4 separate regions of the Homo sapiens genome follow, and regions 1, 3 and 4 are each linked to region 2. Evidence: promoter capture Hi-C in 16 types of primary human blood cells and fetal thymus (Javierre and others, 2016). All regions are on one chromosome and are shown on one strand. The core of a region is centred on a gene start or on the middle of the fragment in contact, and the rest is flanking DNA. Distances in the headings are between cores, read along the strand shown.

Region 1 (5,099 bases), core at 2,039-4,538, 1.1 Mb after region 2:
AACCACTGTTGTTACTCATAAGCCATGATATTAGGGTTATATACTATTGTAGCAAAAACTGACTGATATGCCAAAAAATTGTTATTCTGGAAGATGTGTATTCATTTCATCCTCTCCTCTCTTTCAGTCAGAGATAAACTACATCTACCTATTCCCAAAAGGATTCATTAAAACAAAGAAAATACAACTGTAATTAGGTCAGGTCTACTTTTCTCCCAACTTCCCCAAGTAATGAATAGGAGAAGGAAAGAAAAAAAGAAATAGAGACAGAGAGAAAGAAAGAGAGAAGAGAGAGAGAGAGAGGGAGGGAGGGAGGAAGGAAGGAAAGGAGGGAGGGTGTGGTGGCTCACGCCTGTAATCCTAGCACTTTGAGAGGCCAAGGCGGGCGGATCACGAGGTCAGGAGATCGAGACCATCCTGGCTAACATAGTGAAACCTCGTCTCTACTAAAAATACAAAAAATTAGCCAGGCATGGTGGCCGGCGCTTGTAGTCCCAGCTACTTGGGAGGCAGAGGCAAGAGAATGGCGTGAATTCGGGAGGCGGAGCTTCCAGTGAGCGGAGATCACCCCACTGCACTCCAGCCTGGGCGACAGAGAGAGACTGCATCAGAAAGAAAAAGAAAAAGAAAAAAGAGAGAGGGAGGGAGGGAGGGAGGTAGAGAGGGAGGGAGAAAGAGAGAGGCCAGGCACGGTGACTCACGCCTAATCCCAGCACAGTGGGAGGCCGAGGTGGGCGGATCACCTGAGGTCAGGAGTTGGAGAACAGCCTGGCCAACATGGTGAAATCTCATCTCTACTAAAAATACAAAAAATTAGCCGGCGTGGTGGTGGGTGCCTGTAATCCCAGCTACTTGGGAAGCTGAGGCATGAGAATCACTTGAATCCAGGCAGCAAAAGTTGGCCGTGAGATGAGACTGCACCACTGCACTGCAGCCTGGGTGACAGAGCAAGACTCCATCTCAATAAAAAGAAAAAAAAAAAGAAGAAGGAAAGGAAGGAAGGAAGGGAAGGAGGGAGGGAAGGAAGGAAGGAAGGGAAGGAGGGAGGGAAGGAAGGAGGGAGGGGAAGGAAGGAAGGGAGGAAGGAAGGGAGGGAGGGAGGGGAAGGGAAGGGAAGGGAAGCCAGGGAAGGGAGGGAGGGAAGGAAGGAGGGAAGGAAGGGAGGGAAGGGAAGGGAAGGGGAAGGCAGGGAAGGCAGGGAGGGAAGGAAGGGAGGGAAAGGAAGGGAAGGGAAGGGGAAAGCAGGGAAGGCAGGGAGGGAAGGAAGGGAGGGAAAGGAAGGGAAGGGAAGAGGAAGGCAGGGAAGGCAGGGAGGGAAGGAAGGGAGGGAAAGGAAGGGAAGGGAAGGGGAAGGCAGGGAGGGAAGGAAGGGAGGGAAAGGAAGGGAAGGGAAGGGGAAGGCAGGGAAGGCAGGGAGGGAAGGAAGGAAGGAAAGAAGGAAGGAAGGACAGACAGAGTGAGGGGACATCTTTCATGTGGAGCATTTTTTTATAAAAAAGAATAAAAGCTACTTTGGGAGGCCGAGGCGGGCGGATCACAAGATCAGGAGATCGAGACCATCCTGGCTAACACGGTGAAACCCCGTCTCTACTAAAAATACAAAAAAATTAGCCTGGCGTGGTGGCGGCCTCTTGTAGTCCTAGCTACTCCGGAGGCTGAGGCAGGAGAATGGAGAATGGCATGAACTTGGGAGGTGAAGCTTGCAGTGAGCCAAGATTGCGCCACTGCACTCCAGCCTGGACGACAGAGCGAGACTCCGTCTCAAAAAAAAAAAAAAAAAAAAAAAAAAAAAAAAGGAATAAAAGCTTTTAAATTCCCTTGAGGTTAGATAACTATCATCAGCAATAAGTATTGATCAGAATATATCCAAATTTGCTTTTGTAACTTATAAATTCTTCACAAGTTGACCCAAAACTTATTTCCTTCTCTGCTCCAGCAGCAAAGAACTACCCACCATTCCTCAAACGGTTTTTCCTGTCTAGGAGCTTTGCACATATCGCTCCCTCTGCCAAGCACGCCTACGATTGCATTTCTCTCTACTGTATAGACTATTCCCATTCTACACAGTGCAAGCCAAAAGTGCCCTCCTCTGTGAGACCTTTCTCAATTTAGTTGTTCTCCAATGTCCCGAGCATGTCCATATTCCTTAAGTCCTGCCTCTACCTCAAGAACTGTCATAATTCCAAGTCTCTCCAATGTCCGTGTGGTTGGTTGTATCATCCAACAAGCTAGTTTTATGCTTCTTTGACTTCCTAAACTCCAATCATATTCACATTTATTTTATATCATCCACCCTCATCCAGGGCAGCAACATTACTTGCTTCACCTCTGAAATCTTATATTCTAATATCTTCTTTCTGACTCTACTTCCTCCTCTCTCAATCCCAATGTAACAACATTTTAATCTCATTAAATGTTGACCTTCTGTGTTTGATTATTCTGTTAACACCATCCTGGCTATTGTCACATCCCATCCTTGCCAAGTGTCAACCCCATGGTGCAAATCTATAGGTATCTGAAGGTGCAAATCTGAAGGTATAGGCAAAAACATTTGCCTAAACCTTCAAATGCTTTTATTTAGACACGTTCACCCTACAAATTTTCAGCCAGTAATTCTGTAATTTGCCTCATTTTGTTGTAATATAATGTTGTGAGGATTTTAGGAGAAAAACCATAATTTTTTTTAACTTAGGATACTCTTACCTGCAAGCAATGAAAAATACAAGTGAAAAGCTTTGAATAAGAATGTTTACTATCTCTTATAACAAGAAGTCCAAAGGAATAGTGCTTCTAGGGTTGGTTAATCAATTGTTATCTTGGCTTGATTTGGGCTCATGCCTTCAATATTGCAAAGTGACTGCTACTGTTCTATGTATCACAAGCAGTTATGACAATATTCAGACAAAAAGACAGGAGTTTGCTCCTATTCATCTGTTTGAATAAGGTGAAAATCTCTTCCAAAATTCCTACAGGGCATTTCCCCTAGGGTTTCAGTGGCCAGGTTTGGATCATAAGCTCTTGATACAAATGCAAAGGAGGCTGAGAAAGCAAGGATCTAACATTTTTGTAGGATTTCGGCTTTGTCATTGATATAATTAATATTGATGCTTATAAATGTATAGTCTCCATCTAAACTGGCCCTTCAATGCTGCCTGACAGTAGTTCTGCTTGGCCCAGTGCTTCTAAAACTTTAATGAACATGCAAATCACCTGTGGATATTTAAAAATGCAGATTGGTAATCCCAGCACTTTGGGAGGCTGAGGCGGGCAGATCACGAGTTCAGGAGATCGAGCCCATCCTGGCTAACATGGTGAAACCCTGTCTCTACTAAAAAAATTAGCCGGGCATGGTGGTGGGTGCCTGTAGTCCCAGCTACTTGGGAGGCTGAAGCAGGAGAATGGCGTGAACCCGGGAGGCGGTGCTTGCAGTGAGCTGAGATCACACCACTGCACTCCAGCCTGGGCGACGGAGTGAGACTCCATCTCAAAAAAAAAAAAAAAATTAATAAATAAATGCAGATTGGATTCAGAAGGTCTGGGAGGGGGCCTGAGATCTGCATTTCTATCAAGCTACTACAAAGGGATGCCAAATTTACTTGACTGATAACCACACTTTCAGTTACAAGACTCTTTCCACTTCTACTTCAAATATTCTTCTTCACGCTCTACTAGCCTAGCATCATCCCCATTACTCTTAGGAAATGACCTCATTCCTTATTTCACAAAAAATTACAAAACAAAACAAAACAAAAAAACCTCATAAGACAGAGAACTCTCGATTTAAGAGGTAACACTTTATGAGCACCAAGAGAATTGGCCTTGTCATTAAACAGTTGAAGCTTCCAACTCCGGATATACCACTTACTCTCCTGCGATATTTCGCAATATCTTAACCTTTCTGAGTCCCAGTTTCTTAAGTTATAAAATGAAAATAGTAATGCCAAAATCTTGGTATTTTTGAGGATTAAGTGAGATCATGTAAATGTGTTCCATTTAAGTGTTTTTTTGTTTTTTGTTTTTGAGACAGAGTTTTGCTCTTGTTGCCCAGTCTGGCAATGGAGCAATCTCGGCTCGCTACATTCTCTGCCTCCTGGGTTCAAGCAATTCTTCTGCCTCAGCCTCCCGAGTAGCTGGGATTACCGGCATGCGCCACCACACCTGGCTAATTTTGTATTTTTAGTAGAGACAAGGTTTCTCCATGTTGGTCAGGCTGGTCTCGACCTCCCAACCTCAGGTGATCCTCCTGCCTCGGCCTCCCAAAGTGCTGGGATTACAGGTGTGAGCCATTTAAGTTTTTTAAGAATAAACAACAAAAACAACTAACACAAAAAAAGAACTGGAAGGATATTAAGTGATACATTATTTGACATCTGTTTTGACTGTAAAGGAAAACCTAAAATAAATTTTTCTCAAGCAAGTTAGTAACTCATTACTCTCTCACATTCAAGGGTTTGGAGACATCCTGTCAAGACTATCATGGCACTCCACAGTGCCAGGAACTCAGGCCAGGATTATTCTACCTACTAAGGATATATAATATGTTTCAAGCAGACTTGGAGATGGACTCAGTATTCTACTGGGCTTACTGTGAAATAGAATTAGATCTAACCTACATCTATCAGCTCACTTCACAAGGCTCCACTTTTCCTGATTGGCTGTGTTGTTCTAGGTCTCAGGAACCAGAATTGATTAAGAGTCTGTGACCAATTCAACCCAAAGGTAGGTTCCTTTTCCCAGTGCGTGTTTACTCTGATAAATGGATGCATTAGAGAATAGTACAAAGAAAATTTACAGAAAGTACTTATGAAGTGAATGATCCATCCTGCTCAACTTCTTTCTAATTGAAGGGATGCTAGGTCTGGATTTTGGGTGAAAGATTTTGACTTCATATCATGATAGCTCATGTCAGGTCTCTGGAGGTCAGATTGGAGTCCTTTCAGTTATACTGAAATCAAGTTTAACACTGGTGGTTTACGTATATATTTCAGTCCTATGTTCAGATTTCTCTCATTACTACTATATGCATTCTGTCTGCTTTGATAAGCATAGCCCATCCACTGTCTGGGGTTTGGAACTGAATTTGTGTCTGCAGCTTGGGA
Region 2 (4,930 bases), core at 636-3,135:
ATGCATTGATCGTTTTCAAATACTACTGGTTCACTTATGCAGCCTGCACAAATATTGATGTATTTAAGCAAACAATGTAAATAAAAGTCACAACTGATAATCACTTATATCAGAAAATTCTGGAGATACTGGGAAGCTGCCAAGATCATTATGGTGAATACCATTTTTCCAAAATCATATTTTTTTTTTGCCTAAAATCTTGAATTTTATCATTGGCAACAAACTCAATTTTTTTTTCTTTCCTCCCTCCCTCCCTATTTCTCTTTTTTCCTTTCCTTTCCCCTTCCCCTTTCCCTTTCCTTGTTTTTCTTGAAGTTACAGATTCCCTTTGTTCATTTTCAAGAAAGGTTTGTCAAATACCCAAGTCCGAATAACCGGTTTGTCACTCATCTTAGTAAAATTTGTGTTCCAGGAAAAAAAAGTATTTACTTCAGTTTATAATGCCATCTCACAGTAGCTCTTCTTTGATACGTCATACTTCAATATGCAGCAGAAGTACTTTGTGAGGACTTCCAAGTTTTTACAAAGAATATTAAGTGTCGGAGTGGTTATAATAAAGTAACTTTTACAACTTCATCAGGGATATTCTCTGGTGACAGCGTTCATTTTTCCATTTTTTTTTTTTTTTTTGAGACCGTGCCTTGCTCTGTCATCCAGGCTGGAATGCAGTGGCATGACCTCGGCTCACTGCAGCCTCGACCTCCCAGGCTCAAGGGATCCTCCCACCCCAGCCTCCCGAGTAGTTGGGATTCAGGTGCGTGCCGCCAGGCCTGGCTAATTTTTGTATTTTTGGTAGAGATGGGGTTTCGCCATGTTGGCCAGGCTGGTCTCGAACTCCTGACCTCCCAAAGTGCTAAGATTACAGGCGTGAACCACCGCGCCCGGCCCATTTTTCTTACTGTGAGCGTGTGGTGGTGAAGAGCTCCAGTACGGTTTGGTGTCATTACTGTAATTCCTGTGGAGGGGCCAGCACCTTGACCTACCATTGCTTTTCCACCATCAGTGCAAATGTCAGCATTGTGCAAAGGGCAAATCACGTCTTCATATTAGTATGAAAATAATTTTGGCTTTGAAAGGGTGTCATTGACCCTCAGGACAATCGTTGGTCGACATCAGTGGTTCTCAACGGGGCAGGGTGGGAGGGATAGTTTTTCTTCCAGGGGAAATTTCACTGGGGAAACCATTGGCTGTCACAATCGACTGGTGGTGACATCCCGTGGACAGAGACCAGAGATGCTGCTAAGCACCCTACAATGCACAGAACACCCCGTCCCCCAACAAAGCATTATCCAGTTTGAAATGTTAATGGTGCTGAGGCTGAGAAAGTATGACTTCCAAAAATGAGTCTTTTGGGCAGGAGAGTTGGAGAAATTAACAATCTTGATTACCTTTATTACATGTGCTCGTTTATTTTCAAGACATGATGCACAGCTACGTTCTGGCTGTAATTCTGCCTTCTGGGTCCAACTCACTTGTAACTTTAACGTGAAGCCTGCAGTTCAGCCTCGAGCCTCCCTGACTAGCCTCCCCGCCCGGCCGCCTCGAGCCCTTTATAACCGAATTTTGCCTCTCTGTTCTCTGCGTCTGGCCGACCTCATCAGCTAGGCTATAAACCCCTTCGGGGAAGGAGCATATCCTAATCCTTTGAATCCCGTAAAATAAGTTTTCCCCTCACCTTGTTCCCCACTGACGGGACGCGAGGCTGCGCGGTACCGCGGGGGCGGCTCCTCTCGGTGCGCTCTTCAGCCCGCGCAGCCTCATTTTCCCGCGCTCGTGCGCTGCGGTCACTCAGGGCTGCTGCTAGAGGGCGCGCCCAGCCGCGTGGCCCTGACTACTACAAATCCCAGAAGGTCATGCAGTGGGGGCGGCCGCGGTGACTTCTGGGATTTGTGGTCCCGGAGAAGAGATTGGCGGAGGGGAAAGACTGAGTCGTCTTTCCTTTGCCCGCTTCTGTGGACTGTTCGAACGCCCAGGGGTGGGCCAAACCCGTTTCTTAGGAAACCAGGAATCCAGGGAAGGCAGGTAGGAATTTGGGCGTGATAATTTCTGCTTCCAGTGGGAAAGAATGTAAACACGGGGCCTTGGGAGCCGTTATCGGGTAACTGGGGCTGCCCGGTCGGCGGTGGAAGCTGAGGAAGAGGAGGAAAAAGAGGCGAGTGGGTGTTGTGATTAGGGGAGAAAGGACCTTCGGAATAGGAGTTGAAACCCGACGGGATCCGGCAGAGCCTGGTCGCTAGGGTTGGTCTCCAGGGACAAGCGAGTCTGAGGGTCGGGCCCGCCGTGGCACCTTCGCGGAGCTGCGCGGCCGCAACCTTCCCTGAGCGGTGGGACGGGCGGGACGAGCCGGCCGCTCCCCGCTGGAGAGGTGTCTGCGGCCCGGGGCGGTCCGTGAACGCGCAGGTGACGTCCGGGGCAGCCTTTCTGAGCGTTTTTATTATTGTTGACCGATGAAGGGAAAGTCACTAATACTGGTTTTTCTCTTGCGGTGGCGTTTTTGGGTAAATCGTTTCTTGGATTCCTCACCTCTGAATACCTCCTTTTACCCAGAAGGATGCTGTTGTGATTTCCTGATCTTGTTCATGTAGTGGTTTTTCCCTTTGGGTGCTGCATCCTCAGACACACTCAAGACAAGCCCTCTCTGGCGGCTGGGTAAATGTGAAGCCGTCGCCAGTTGTTGAGCGCCTACTATAGGGATCTTTGTAACAGTACAGGAATTTAGAATACAGCGTCGTTGTTTAGAATCGTTATGCCATTCCTGAAATATAATCCTATATAAAAGGTTGAATTTGTCTGGTTTCATGAGTTTAACATGAAACCGGTGTGGATTGTGGTTTACTCTCATGGTTTCTTACTCTGGTAAAAAAATGTTAAGTCTAGGATGTTGAAGCCTCGTGCTTCTAACTAGACTCAGGAAAGCCTCCTTCATAAGAAGTTTTAATTTCATGTTCAGATAGTCATAGAGGAACAATAAACTCGTTCGGCTTAAGATATCTGAAACAACTGGGAATGTTAAATTTTCTAATGCAGAAAGTGCTTTGCATGCTCTAGGATTCACATACCTTTTTAAGCCTGGCTAAGTTTTCTTCAAAGCTTAAGTCCTCCAGAAAGCCTCAAGTGTCTCTTCTCTGATGTCATGGCATCCTTTGTTTACTCTCTTGTAGCACATATCGTGTATGAAATTGACTGTACTCTGTGGTTTCCAGACACTTTTGAAGAAAATATAAAACTTTGCTAATGGCCTTGATAACAGATTCATGCTTTTACACAGTAGTGGGCCCTTGATACTACTGTTTGGTATCTCTATTTTTCCTTTGTTGCTTTTCCTTATCTCCACAGTGACTATTTTAGTCTTTTCCCTTTTTCTCAAGAACTCAGATCTGTTATTTTCCTTTTACTTTGAGCAGATGACTAGCCGCTGTTTGCTGGAGAAATGTGAAGCTTGGGGCATGAAATTCCTCATTTTCCTTTCCCTCCATCCCTGAACTTGCCTGTATGTTTCACTCAATATTAACTCCTTTTTTTGTCTGAGAGGACTGTATTTTTGTCTCCCTCTTTCAGGTTAAACTTGTCGATTGCTAGTGGCATCAGGCCTCCCACACCCTCATAACCTCAGTCTGTCCTGACCTCTGCAGCCCCTGATCTCTAGGTCTCAAGGGATCTGTGGAGGAGAATGGCTCAAACACCTGAGGCAATAGTGGCGTGGTTTTTTCACATATGGTTGAGAGCCACCACCTTGGGCCATAACTTATACTTGTCCCCAGCATTTATAACAGTGGTTTGGGTTGGAAGATGGGGAGGGTAATTGGAATCTGAATGACCTATTAATTTTAAAAGATGTGTGGGTCTGTTTCTCACTTTTTCCTTTCCTTCCCACCCTATCACAGCCCCTCATGTAATCTACAGATCTGATCAACGGTTTTTTTTTTTACTTTTTTTTCTTTTGATCAATGATTTTTATTGTAGTTTACCTCCAGTAAACACACTAGGTGTCCTTTAGTATGAGTAGGGTTCCCACAGTGCCTGGTGCCTCACCTTATGAATAAAGAAAGTTTCATTTGGAATCTTGAAACCGGAAAACGTGGTCATCATTCTTGTTACCATTAGGGATAATCATAAATACAAGACTTCTTTTTATCTTGTCTTACACTGATATCTTGTGAGTCTTTCCTAATGATCTGTATTTTCTCAGGTTGTCCTCACTGTGTGCCTTTTAACTTCTGTTCCATAGTATCCACACTTCTGTTTTCAGCCATCTTCCCCTACAATACTCATAGTCATCTTCAAACATGGGAAACTCATTCTCCTATAATATGATCGGCCTGGGGAGAGAGTTTGCATTGTCCTTATTCCCCAGCACAGTTTATAATCCATTAGTCCTCCAGGTTTTAAAAAAAATCTCAGTTCCTGTGGAAAGTTTGTGGTTCACTTATATTATCAGCCTGTATATTTCTTTCTTTCTTTCTTTCTTTCTTTTTTTTTTTGAGATGGAGTTTTGCTCGTGTCGCTCAGGCTGGAGTGCAATGGTGCAATCTCGGCTCACTGCAACTTCTACCTCCTAAGTTCAAGCGATTCTCCTGCCTTAGCCTCCCAAGTAGCTGGGATTACAGGCATGTGCCACCATGCCCAGGTACTTTTTGTATTTTTGTAGAGACGGGGTTTCACCATGTTGGCCAGGCTTGTCTTGAACTCCTGACCTCAGGTGATCCGCCTGCCTCTGCCTCCCAAAGTGCTGGGATTACAGGTGTGAGCCACCGCGCCCAGCCTGTATATTTCTTGATTGCTGTGATTTATTGGCACTCTCTCATATTCATTAAGAACTCAGACATACGACTCACAATTTTCTTACCCCTCCAAATTCTGCCATTACGGTAGGTCTTTCCATGTGAATGACCTCATAGCCACCCTCACTTTTTTTCTCACCTTCCTTCTA
Region 3 (5,405 bases), core at 735-3,234, 1.0 Mb after region 2:
TAAGATAAAATATTTTAAAGATGAATACAATATTAAGAATTTCTGAAGATAATTGCTTGACTTTAAATATGTTTTTTAAAATTTTGTGTGCATTCAATGTCTCTCTTTTATGCTATCTTACTTTTGCTCTTGGTATCCTCTTTTAAGAATGATGCACTCTTTGATTTTTTAAATGATTACTTATACCTGTCCACTCCACCATTTGATTAAATTCAAAACTTTTCCTAACAGAGCCAAAATGCCCTTCTGTCGATGCTATATTTCACCATTAAGAAAACTATTTATAAGAGAAGAGGCCTTCAAGATGCATGTGTCTTGTTTAAACATTACAAAAAGCTTTCTTTTGTTTTTTTTCTTGGCAACCAAGTGATTTTTCATATAACCTGGTATGGTGAAATATATGGAAGTTAATTGAATTGATAGATTTCCTTAAATCTATCATTGCTGGAATATCCCTGGGAATATCTTCTACAGTTTGAATATGATTGTGTTAGAGTAACTGGGTGAGGTAGTGAGCGATTTATCTACATAGAATAGTTGGAGAAAGGCTCACAGGCCAAGGCATGTGAAATGAAGCATGACATACGAAAGGGGAGCTGAGATGCCAAAAGCTGGGTTGAAGAACATTTTAAGCAGATGAAAAGTACATATGAAGGTCCTAAAGTATGAATGAACTTGGCTGGCTTAAAGATAAAAGACCAGTGTGGGTGGACAGAAGCAACTGAGAAAGAGAATTGAGGTTGAGAAGGAATACAAAAGTAGCTATGCAAAAAAAAAAAAAAAAAAAAAAAAGTTTGCATTTAGGTCAAAATAAAAGAATTCATAGAAAAGTTTAAAGCATAAGAATTTTAGAGTCTGAGTTACATTTTTAAAATGGATTAAAGACTTTAAGATATAACTCTGGCTCCAACATGAAGAATCCATTACAGGAGGCAATAGAGGAAGCATTGTGAAAGTGTTAAGTGAGAAATAATGATGTATTATTAGGCAAGGGAGATGGGCAGAGGCAGAATTGAAATTCACTTTTGAGATATAGTCAACATGATTTGCAGATGAACTGAATTTTCTTTTTTTTTCCTTTTTTTTCTTTTTTCTTTTTTTTGTTTTGTTTCGTTTTTTGAGACGGAGTTTCGCTCTTGTTGCCCAGGCTGGGGTGCAATGGCACGATCTCAGCTCACCGCAACCTCCGCCTCCCGGGTTCAAGCGATTCTCCTGCCTCAGCCTTCCGAGTAGCTGGGATTACAGGCATGTGCCACCATGCCCAGCTAATTTTGTATTTTTAGTAGAGATGGGGTTTTTCCATGTTGGTCAGGCTGGTCGTGAACTCCCGACCTCATGTGATCTGCCCACCTCGGCCTTTCAAAGTGGTGGCTGGGTGAGCCAACACGCCCAGCCAGAACTGAATTATCAAAGTATTAAAGGGAGAGAAATAGTGATGAGTACCCTGGAATTTGGATTAACGTCACTGTCATTTATTGAGATGAAAATTCCTGGAGAATGAAAATTCATAAGGAGGAATTTCATTTTGAGCATGCTAATTTGCTATGAAATTAATATAGATTAAATATCTTATTAAAAATAGATCTCGGGCCGGGCACAGTGGCTCACGCCTGTAATCCCAGCACTTTGGGCGGCTGAGGCGGGTGGATCACGAGGTCAGGAGATCGACACAAGCCTGGCTAACACAGTGAAACCCCGTCTCTACTAAAAATACAAAAAAATTCGCCAGGCATGGGGGCGGGCGCCTGTAGTCCCAGCTACTTGGGAGGCTGAGGCAGGAGAACGGCATGAGCCTTGGAGGCCGAGCTTGCGGTGGGCCAAGACCGCGCCACTGCACTCCAGCCTGGGCAAAAGTGCGAGATTCCGTCTCAAAAAAAAAACAAAAAAAAAACACCTCATATTGAATTAATAATAAAGCTCAAAAGTTTAAGAAATATACCTAAATCAAAATAGTAATAAAATGTTAAAGTAAATAGGTGGATTAAAATACATCTGAGAAACTCAAATAGGAACAGTGCAGTTCTACTAAACATTAACACAGAATCCAAGGTAAGAGTCATTAAATTAGTGGCTATATTGCATTGACATGTTCCACTATGAGCTTTTTTGCACCTATAATTATAACATACACCTCTTAAAAACTATTAATCAAGGACACAAAAAGTACATATAAAATAATTTGTAATACTATTAACTGTAAATTTAACTTTATTATCCACATTTTTAAGTATCCATTGGCATACGGAGAAAAATATACACACTGAATCACAAAGAATATCTCAAAAAATTGTAAAATGTCAAATTTACAATTATCTATTTTCCGACAAATACATACAAAATATATTTCAGTTAAAAATAAATAACAAAAGCACAACCACTAAGTCTCATTCACCACTATACATACATTACAATTTAGAAATTAAAAGTATTCCATAGTAAATTTTGGATTAAAAAGAGAATAACAAATCAAATTATAGACTATGATGGAATAATTAAGTATTGCATAGTAACAGAGGTGTTTCTATTAAAATCAATGGGGAATAAGGATTCTTGTAAATAGTATTAGTAATATAATTTTAGAAGTTCTAGCTGTAAGGCATGAAAAAAAGTCAACATAGCTAGTGTAAAGAATAAAATAATTTAGTGTGGAACAAATAAGTTCCTTTTAGACATTTTTGGAAAGGTTTTCTATTTTAAAAAATAAATAAATTTTAAATATATATATGTATGTCTACATGCACACACAATAAAATTAGATCTCCCTTTACAACTACATTGAAATAAACTATAAATGGATTAAATATTAAAATTTTAAGCCAAATTAAATCCCCCAATACTAAAAATTATACAAAAAGTTATACACTTGACTACATATAAAGTCAAAATTGTTTTAGTGTTAAAAATTAGAAGCTACTTTAAAAGACAAACTAGTAAAATATTCAAAACTCATATAATAATGTTTAGCATACTTATTCTTTGTTAAAAAATAATTATTTTAAATATCTATTAGCCAAAAGGACAGAACATGTGGATTCAGTTAAATAGATTACAGCAAAAAAACAGAAGAAATAAAACTGGTTGTTAAACAAGAAAACATATTTGATCTCACAAGTAATCAAATAAATTCATAATAAAATAATGACATACCAGATTTTGGCCTATCAAATTTTCAAAGAACAAAATGGTGAAGAAACTGTGAACCTGAATTCTGATGAAATGCTGCCAAGAGTGTAAATAGATAAATACTTTCAGGGAGGTAATTTTCTATTATGTATCAAGATTTTTAAGATAAGTAACGTGAATTTGATAAAGTATTTTTACTTCTAGTAATCCCTCATTAAGAAATTATTACTGATATGGACAATAGAAATCTATGCAATGATGTTCATATGGGGAAACGTGTGGTATAGGTGAAAACAAAGGATACTTACAGGAATATCTCACTTTATGGTACTTCACTTTATTGCACTTCATAGATACTGCATTTTTTGCAAACTGGTTTGTGGCAAGTCTGTGCTGAGCAATTTTATCAGTTTATCAGTGTCATTTCCCAATGCGACACAGAGACGGCATTTGTACACTCTGTATCTCTGTGTCACATTTTGGTAATTCTTGCAATGTTTCAAGCTTAATTATTATTGTTGTATTTCTTATAGCGATCTGTAACCAGTGATCTTAAAGTTACTATTGTAATTGTTTGAGGGCACTACAAACCACTCCCATATAAGAAAGCAAACTTAATTAATACATGTATGTGTTCTTACTGCTCCACAGACCAGTCATTCCCCTATCTCTATGCTTCTCTAAGATTCTCCCTATTCCCTGAGATACAACAGTATTGAAATTAGGCCAATTAATAATCCTACAATGGCCTCTAAGTGTTCGAGTGAAAGGAAGAGTCACGTATCTCTCACTTTAAGTAAAAAGCTATAAATGATTAAGCGTAGTGAGGAAGGCATGTCAAAAGCCAAGACAGGTTGTAAGCCAGGCCTCTTGCTCCAAACAGTTAGCCAAGCTGTGAATACAAATCAAAAGTTATTGGCAGAAATTTAAAGTGCTACTTGAATGAACACACAAATGATAAGAAAGTGAAACAGCCTTATTACTGACATGCAGAAAGTTTCAATGTTCTTGACAGAAGATCAAGCCAATTATATAACATTCTCTTGAAACAAAGCCTAACCCAGTTCAAACTCTCAATTCAATGAAAGCCCAGAGATGTGAGGAAGCTGTAGAAGAAAGTTGGAAGCTAGCAGAAGTTGGTTGATGAAATTTAAGGAAAGAAGCCATCTCCATAACATCAAAGCACAAGATAAAGCAGCAATGCTGATGGAGAAGCCGCAGCAACTTATTCAGATCTAGCTAAGATAAATGATGAAGATGAATGCACTAAACAGATTTTCAATGTAGATGAAATAGCTTCATATTGGAAGAAGATTTCATCTAGGTCTGTCGTAGGGAGGAGAAGTCAATGCCTGTCTTCAAAGCTTCTAAAAACAGTTTGACTCTTGTTAGGGGCTAATGCTCCTGATGAGTTTAAGTTGAAGCCAATGGTCATTTACCATTCAAAAAAATCCTAGGACCCTTAAGAATTATGCTAAATCTACTCTGCCTGTGCTCTATTAAGTGGATCAATAAAGCCTAAAAGATAGCACATCTATCCATAGCGCAGTTCACTGAATATTTTAAGCCCACTATTGAGACTTGCTGATAAGAAAGAAAGATGCCCCTCCCTCCCCTCCCCCAACGCGAGGGCGGGCGGGCGCTGCGAGGAGGGCTAGGCCTGGGCCGGGCTCCCGCCCCAGTGCTGTGCGTGGGGAGCGATCTGTGTGTGGGGGACCGCGTGGAGGGGTGGCCGCTGCGTGTGCGGTACTGTGGAGGCGGCGGGGCCGCTGGGCGCCCCTTTTCCGCCTGGTAACCTCGCCTCTGTGCTTCCCTCTCGCTCGCCCTGTTCCTCCTCTAGTCCCTCGGCTCCGTGCCCGGGACCCTGCCAGCAGAGGAGACAGGTATATGCTCGTCACTTTCGAAGAGCCGCCCTGTGCTATCAAGGCTGGATGGAAAGAAAACCATGCAACGTTTATGAATGAACTGAAAAACCTTCAGGCTGAAGGACTTAGGACTCTTGGCCAATCCCTAAGGACAGCTTTTGATTTATTAAATTTAAATAGATTAGCAACTGGCATAGACAACTATGGGCAGGGAAGAAACCCTTTTTTCTTGGAGCCAGCAATAATTATCACAATTACTGATGGGAGCAAGTTGACTACCACCAGTGGAGTCCAGGATGAGCTTCATTTACCTCTTAATTCTCCTTTGCCTGGAAGTGAATTGACCAAGGAACCTTTTCCTTGGGATCAGAGATTCTTTGCATTAGTGTTGCAGTTGCCTGGCACCATGTCAGTAGA
Region 4 (5,010 bases), core at 435-2,934, 1.0 Mb after region 2:
CTTGACCTTTACATTTTTCAAAGCCAAGCAAGTATTACAGGTTGAGCATTCCTAATTTAAAAATCTGAAATCCAAAATGCCCCTAAATGTGAAACTTTGAGTGCTGGCATCATGCCCAAAGTAAATACTCACTGGAGATTTTCAGACTTCAGATTTTCAGATTAGGAATGCTCAATCAGTAATGAAAATATTCCAAAATCCCTCCAAAAAAGAAATGGCGAATACTTCTGATCCCAAGCATTTTGGATAAAGGATATTTAACTAGTACTTCCGTAGCAAAAAGAAAAGCAAGCAAACAAAAACCCTGACAATATTTTATAAATATTTTATAAAGGAAAAAGCTAAAGAACGCGTTATTTTGATAATAATCTCATTCAAATTTGAACTTCAAATTCTTTGAAAATAAAGTTTTATGACTTTAGAAAATAAGTTTTAGTTTTCTAAGTCATTTAAAAGCTGCAAATCATTATCTGATAATATACATAAACTAAGAGTAGCTACAATGACTTGAAAAATAAATTCATTTTCTCTGAAAAACTTGTTCAAGGCTGATCTTAGGTAATGTGAGAGACATTTGCTTCAGCAACACACTTACAATAAGGTGAATACAATGTATGAATATTAACATTAATATCTGTTAGTACTCAAATCTTGATGCTACCAATCCCTACTTGTCTATTGATTGAGAGCATCTCTTTAAATGCATGTATCTGAGGTTTCCCAAGGATGCGCATAAACCTTATCTGATCAGTTCTCTGGCCTTTTGCCCCTTTTGCTACTGATGATGTTCCCAGTCTCTTTTGACTTCTTTGCCACGGCACCAACTTGGACCTGAAATCTACTCCTGAACCATTACTAACATCACCACTCTTTCGAGATGATGCTCAATTTGGGGAAAGGCCCCACAGCAAAAGACATACGTACCTTAAAATCTCTTGGTAGTTAATGATAAGAGATTTTCCCATTTGCCACACAACTAGACATGACAGATTCTCATGGCCCCAGACACCCACTGAGAGAGGCAGCTTAAGTGAGTTGCCAGTTTCCTTGACCTTGAATTACCACCACAACTGTCACCTCTGCTTCTGTGGTGAAGTCCTCATTTACCCAGGCATCAGTATTACATGTGGTGAGATGAATATTTGCCGCATATCTATTGTGTTCATATATCTATTCTGCTCAGCCAGGGGATACCCCACAGCAAAGGTTGCATGAACCTGAAAATGTTGTAGCTTTTTCTATGCTCACATTCTTAGCCACTAAGTCCCAGGCCATGCAAACACCCCCACAGTACCCTACTGGGATAAGTTTCAAAATCAGTTATGTTCTCATACCAACAGGACCCATTGCAAATTGGGGACTCACAATTCTAGACTCTTCCTCCCATTTGGGGTCCTATTGTCCTTTTCTGTGCTCTGGGCACTGTTGGGGTCACTCAAGTTGATCAGACATGTTTTGTATACCATTTCTTAGTATGTTAATGTGAGTTGCGGTCTCTTTCCCCCACCCCAGGAAAGCAACTCCTCTGAAAATCCATAGATTAAAATAGATACGGCATGTATCCACTCTTACAGACATAAGAGTATGAGTTCCTGTCCAAATTTTGTAAAGAAAAATTTCTTATTTTTTCTTTATTTATTTCTTTGTTTTTGAGATGGAGTCTTGTTCTGTCACCAGGCTGGAGTGCAGTGACGATCTTGGTTCACTGCAACCTCCGACTCCCGGGTTCAAGCGATTCTCCTGCCTCAGCCTCCCAAATAGCTGCGATTACAGGTGCGTGCCACCTCACCCGGCTAATTTTTGTATTTTTAGTACAGACGGGGTTTCACCATGTTGGCCAGGATGGTCTCAATCTCCTGACCTCGTGATCCGCCCGCCTCGGCCTCCCAAAGTGCTGGAATTACAGGCGTGAGCCACCGCGCCCGGCCTTTGTAAAGAAAAATTTCAAAGAAAAATTTTATGAGTTTCAGTAATGTATTCCCTTCCCAAGAAATGAGGTTAAGGTACCTGCTTTTCAACCTCTTTCAATTTTTTATGTCCCAGGTAGAAAAAGGTGTTAAAATTCATGGACCTAAGGGTGGTCAGCTAGCTGTATAGGCATGGCCTTTTAAAGGTCTTACTTAAAGTTATTGATGTTTCTGACTTTTTGTTTGTAATACCATTATTTGCAGAGGTAATGAAAAAAGTCCATATATTTATATCTTTTTATTTAAAAAAATACCTAGTTATAACATTGAAACAGTATAGGACTATATAAGGTAAAAGTATGAGAAAGAGAGAGAGAGACAGTTAGAAAACGCACAGGAAAATCATGGAGCAAATATGCCAAAGTACTAGCAGTGGTTTCCTTGGAGATGTTGTTAAAAGGGACATTTGGGGAAATTTTCATCCTTCCTATAATTGTAAATTGGTGTGATTGAAGCTGAGCTTTACTCTTTTGGTAATTTAAGAAAAAAAAATGTAATTTAAAAAAACACTGACTTGTTTGCTCCTTTAGGATACACATTTTTACTTTTTGAATGGCACTCTGTACTGAATAACTTCTCTAAATTTTGAAGTGACAGAAATAACAGCAACAATTTTTTTTTGAGACAAAGCCTTGCTCTATCACCCAGCCTGGAGTGCAGTGACTTGACCACAGCTCACTGCAGCCTCGACCTCCCCATTTCAAGTGATCTTCTTCTGTCAGTCTCCCTGGTAGCTGGGACTGCAGGTATATGCCATCATGCCTGGCTAACAGTTTCGGTTTTATAGAGGTGGGATCTCACTGTGTTGCCTAGGCTGGAGCAACATCTTTTACCACAGATTATTTTCATTGTAAACATTTTGTTATTCACTAATGTGTTATTCCTATAGACTAGTTTTTCTGTTCTTGCATGTTTTCCTCAAACCAACTCTCCAGTGAAATCAAATTCAGTTGGCTTATCAGAAACTAAAGTTCTCTGTGTTCCAAATGAGAAAGGAGCCTCTTTCCTATAAATTCAAAACCCAGTTACATTATGTACAAAATGTAGTCAAATATGAAATAAAATGTTTTAGATACTCTGTTTGATTTTGTGGAAACAAGATACTTCACCGATTTCAAGATGACTATCTTGAAATAGATTTAATTTCAGATTTCATATGAAGCTCCACCATTCATTCCCTTTCCCCTTTCTCACTGACATATTTTCTGATGAAAAAGCACCTGGCATAAAGGTCAGGTTGTGAAAAATGATTCCATTTCTGTTGTAAACAGCAAGATGCAATTTCTCACTTCGTTTTTAGATAGCAAGAGCACCTCATGGAATTGAAAGCTACAACTGATAAAGTTTGTTGTGCAGCCCTGAGAGATTGCTATGATCTGTTTCTCTTTAACCTGTCCTTGATCTGATTTATGAGCCCTTTTTAGGAAAAACATTACTCCCCGAGGGAGATAAAAAAGTCTGTTCTCCCATTACCTACCCCAACTCACATTAAGATAGTCTAAGGAAAGAATAGTAAACATGGCCCCAGGAATGCAGACTTGAGGTTTGATGCCATCAAATAATCCTTGTGGCCAGTGCTTGTGTCTAGATATAAAAGAAGAAAAAAACCCTTTATTGCCATGTTTTGCTTCTTTATGCCTCGGGGGACTTTTCAGCCTTCAGCCACTGTGAGCTTTATGAAGAAATGCACCACAGATTTCTATTGGTTGGGCATGATGGCTCATGCCTGTAATCCCGACACTTTGGGAGGCCAAGGCAGATGGATCACCTGAAGTCAGGAAATTGAGACCAGCCTGGCCAACATGGTGAAACCCTGTCTCTACTAAAAATACAAAAATTAGCCGAGTGTGATGGCACGTGCCTGTAGTCCCAGCTACTCAGGAAGCTGAGGTATGAGAATCACTTGAACCTGGGAGGTAGAGGTTGCAGTGAGCCAAGATCTCACCACTGCACTCAAGCCTGGGCCACAGAGTGAGACCCTGTCTCAAAAAAAAAAAAAAAGAAGAAGAAGAAGAAGAAGAAGACTTTTCTTGAGCAAGGCCAACACCTATTGGCATATAGTATCATGCAATAGTAAACATTACAATTATGAGGCTAACTTATTAATGAACTTGGTGGTCTTGAAAATTCTAATTTGTCTTCAGAGCCAAGATGATGCTTAGTCTTTTTTCACTTGTTCTATTTGTCAGCAAGGAAGGACAAAATCTGAGGTAAATGAGTGTTTTGGGAAATTCTACCCCAAAGATTAAAAAAATCAAAATAGAAGTCCATGGGAGTTTCAGTTACCAATATAGATGGAAGTTAAAAACTACCATTGTAAGAAATTTGAAAGTTTTGTAATTTTATGTTTGTTATGCAGTTTATAAATGTGTGCAATTTTGTAATTGTTTTTCTGATTGTTTGGAATTATTAGAAACCTTCCTGATTATTCTTGTGGACCACAAATACTAAGGAAATTGGGGACACTGTATCTTATTTATTAGTTAAATTTTGGAGAGCTCAAGGGAACTTCAAATGTCTAGAAGAGAAGGTAATACAAAAGAATAAGAAAGCAGTTGAGTCCTTAGGACATATTGAAAGCAATATTGAAGAATATTCATAGCTAGTCTGATTTTGCTTAATTTTAGGAAAGATTTTAGCAATGAAAGGCATTAGTTGAAATTTTTAAACAGAATTATAATTTTATATAATTATAATTTTATTCACTGTTAATGAAAACTTTTTGATTTCTGTAATGTTAGGTTAAAAGTTTATACAAGTAGGAAGTGCCAGGTGCTGTTCAGTAAAATCTGTTTCATTAAATTTTCTTGAGAAAGAAAATATGAAGCTCAAACAAAATCAAAGGTGAGTATCCCCAACTTTCCCTTCCTCAAATTATCCTGGCAGAGACATACCAGAACTCAGGGTTACATTAGTTACATTAGTAAATGACAATCTGTTCCATTCACTTGGCATAATTCTAGGAACAGAAGCATATTTTAGTAGCAAGTTGTAAATTTCCTATCAAACGTGTTTCCTCTATATCCCTACACCAAATGGTGAG

Evidence for each region. Contacts are between HindIII fragments. The CHiCAGO score rates a contact against its expected background, and 5 or more counts as called.
Region 1: a contact is called between a fragment that was not itself captured here and the fragment with the promoter of TTC33 in region 2, in 5 of 17 cell types (M1 macrophages, M0 macrophages, M2 macrophages and 2 more). The highest score is 11.2, in M1 macrophages.
Region 3: a contact is called between a fragment that was not itself captured here and the fragment with the promoter of TTC33 in region 2, in 7 of 17 cell types (M2 macrophages, monocytes, naive CD4 T cells and 4 more). The highest score is 8.7, in M2 macrophages.
Region 4: a fragment that was not itself captured here is called in contact with the fragment with the promoter of TTC33 in region 2 in 5 of 17 cell types (M0 macrophages, monocytes, activated CD4 T cells and 2 more); the score reaches 12.9 in M0 macrophages.

What each region holds. Positions count from the first base shown.
Region 1 is chr5:39,606,878-39,611,976 of GRCh38, reverse strand. No RefSeq gene overlaps it. Among named protein-coding and RNA genes, the nearest start is that of LINC02104, 89 kb to the right of the region's middle. RefSeq lists a silencer at 3,315-3,496. The HindIII fragment of the contact is 1,106 bases long and covers 2,736-3,841 here.
Region 2 is chr5:40,752,916-40,757,845 of GRCh38, reverse strand. TTC33 (tetratricopeptide repeat domain 33) reads left to right here and starts at 1,885. Exons shown (of 5, transcript NM_012382.3): 1 at 1,885-2,022. RefSeq lists an enhancer at 1,862-2,011. The HindIII fragment of the contact is 9,414 bases long and covers 1-3,092 here.
Region 3 is chr5:39,721,076-39,726,480 of GRCh38, reverse strand. It overlaps the pseudogene INTS6P1. Among named protein-coding and RNA genes, the nearest start is that of LINC02104, 200 kb to the right of the region's middle. The HindIII fragment of the contact is 3,291 bases long and covers 339-3,629 here.
Region 4 is chr5:39,703,777-39,708,786 of GRCh38, reverse strand. No RefSeq gene overlaps it. Among named protein-coding and RNA genes, the nearest start is that of LINC02104, 190 kb to the right of the region's middle. The HindIII fragment of the contact is 8,483 bases long and covers 1-5,010 here.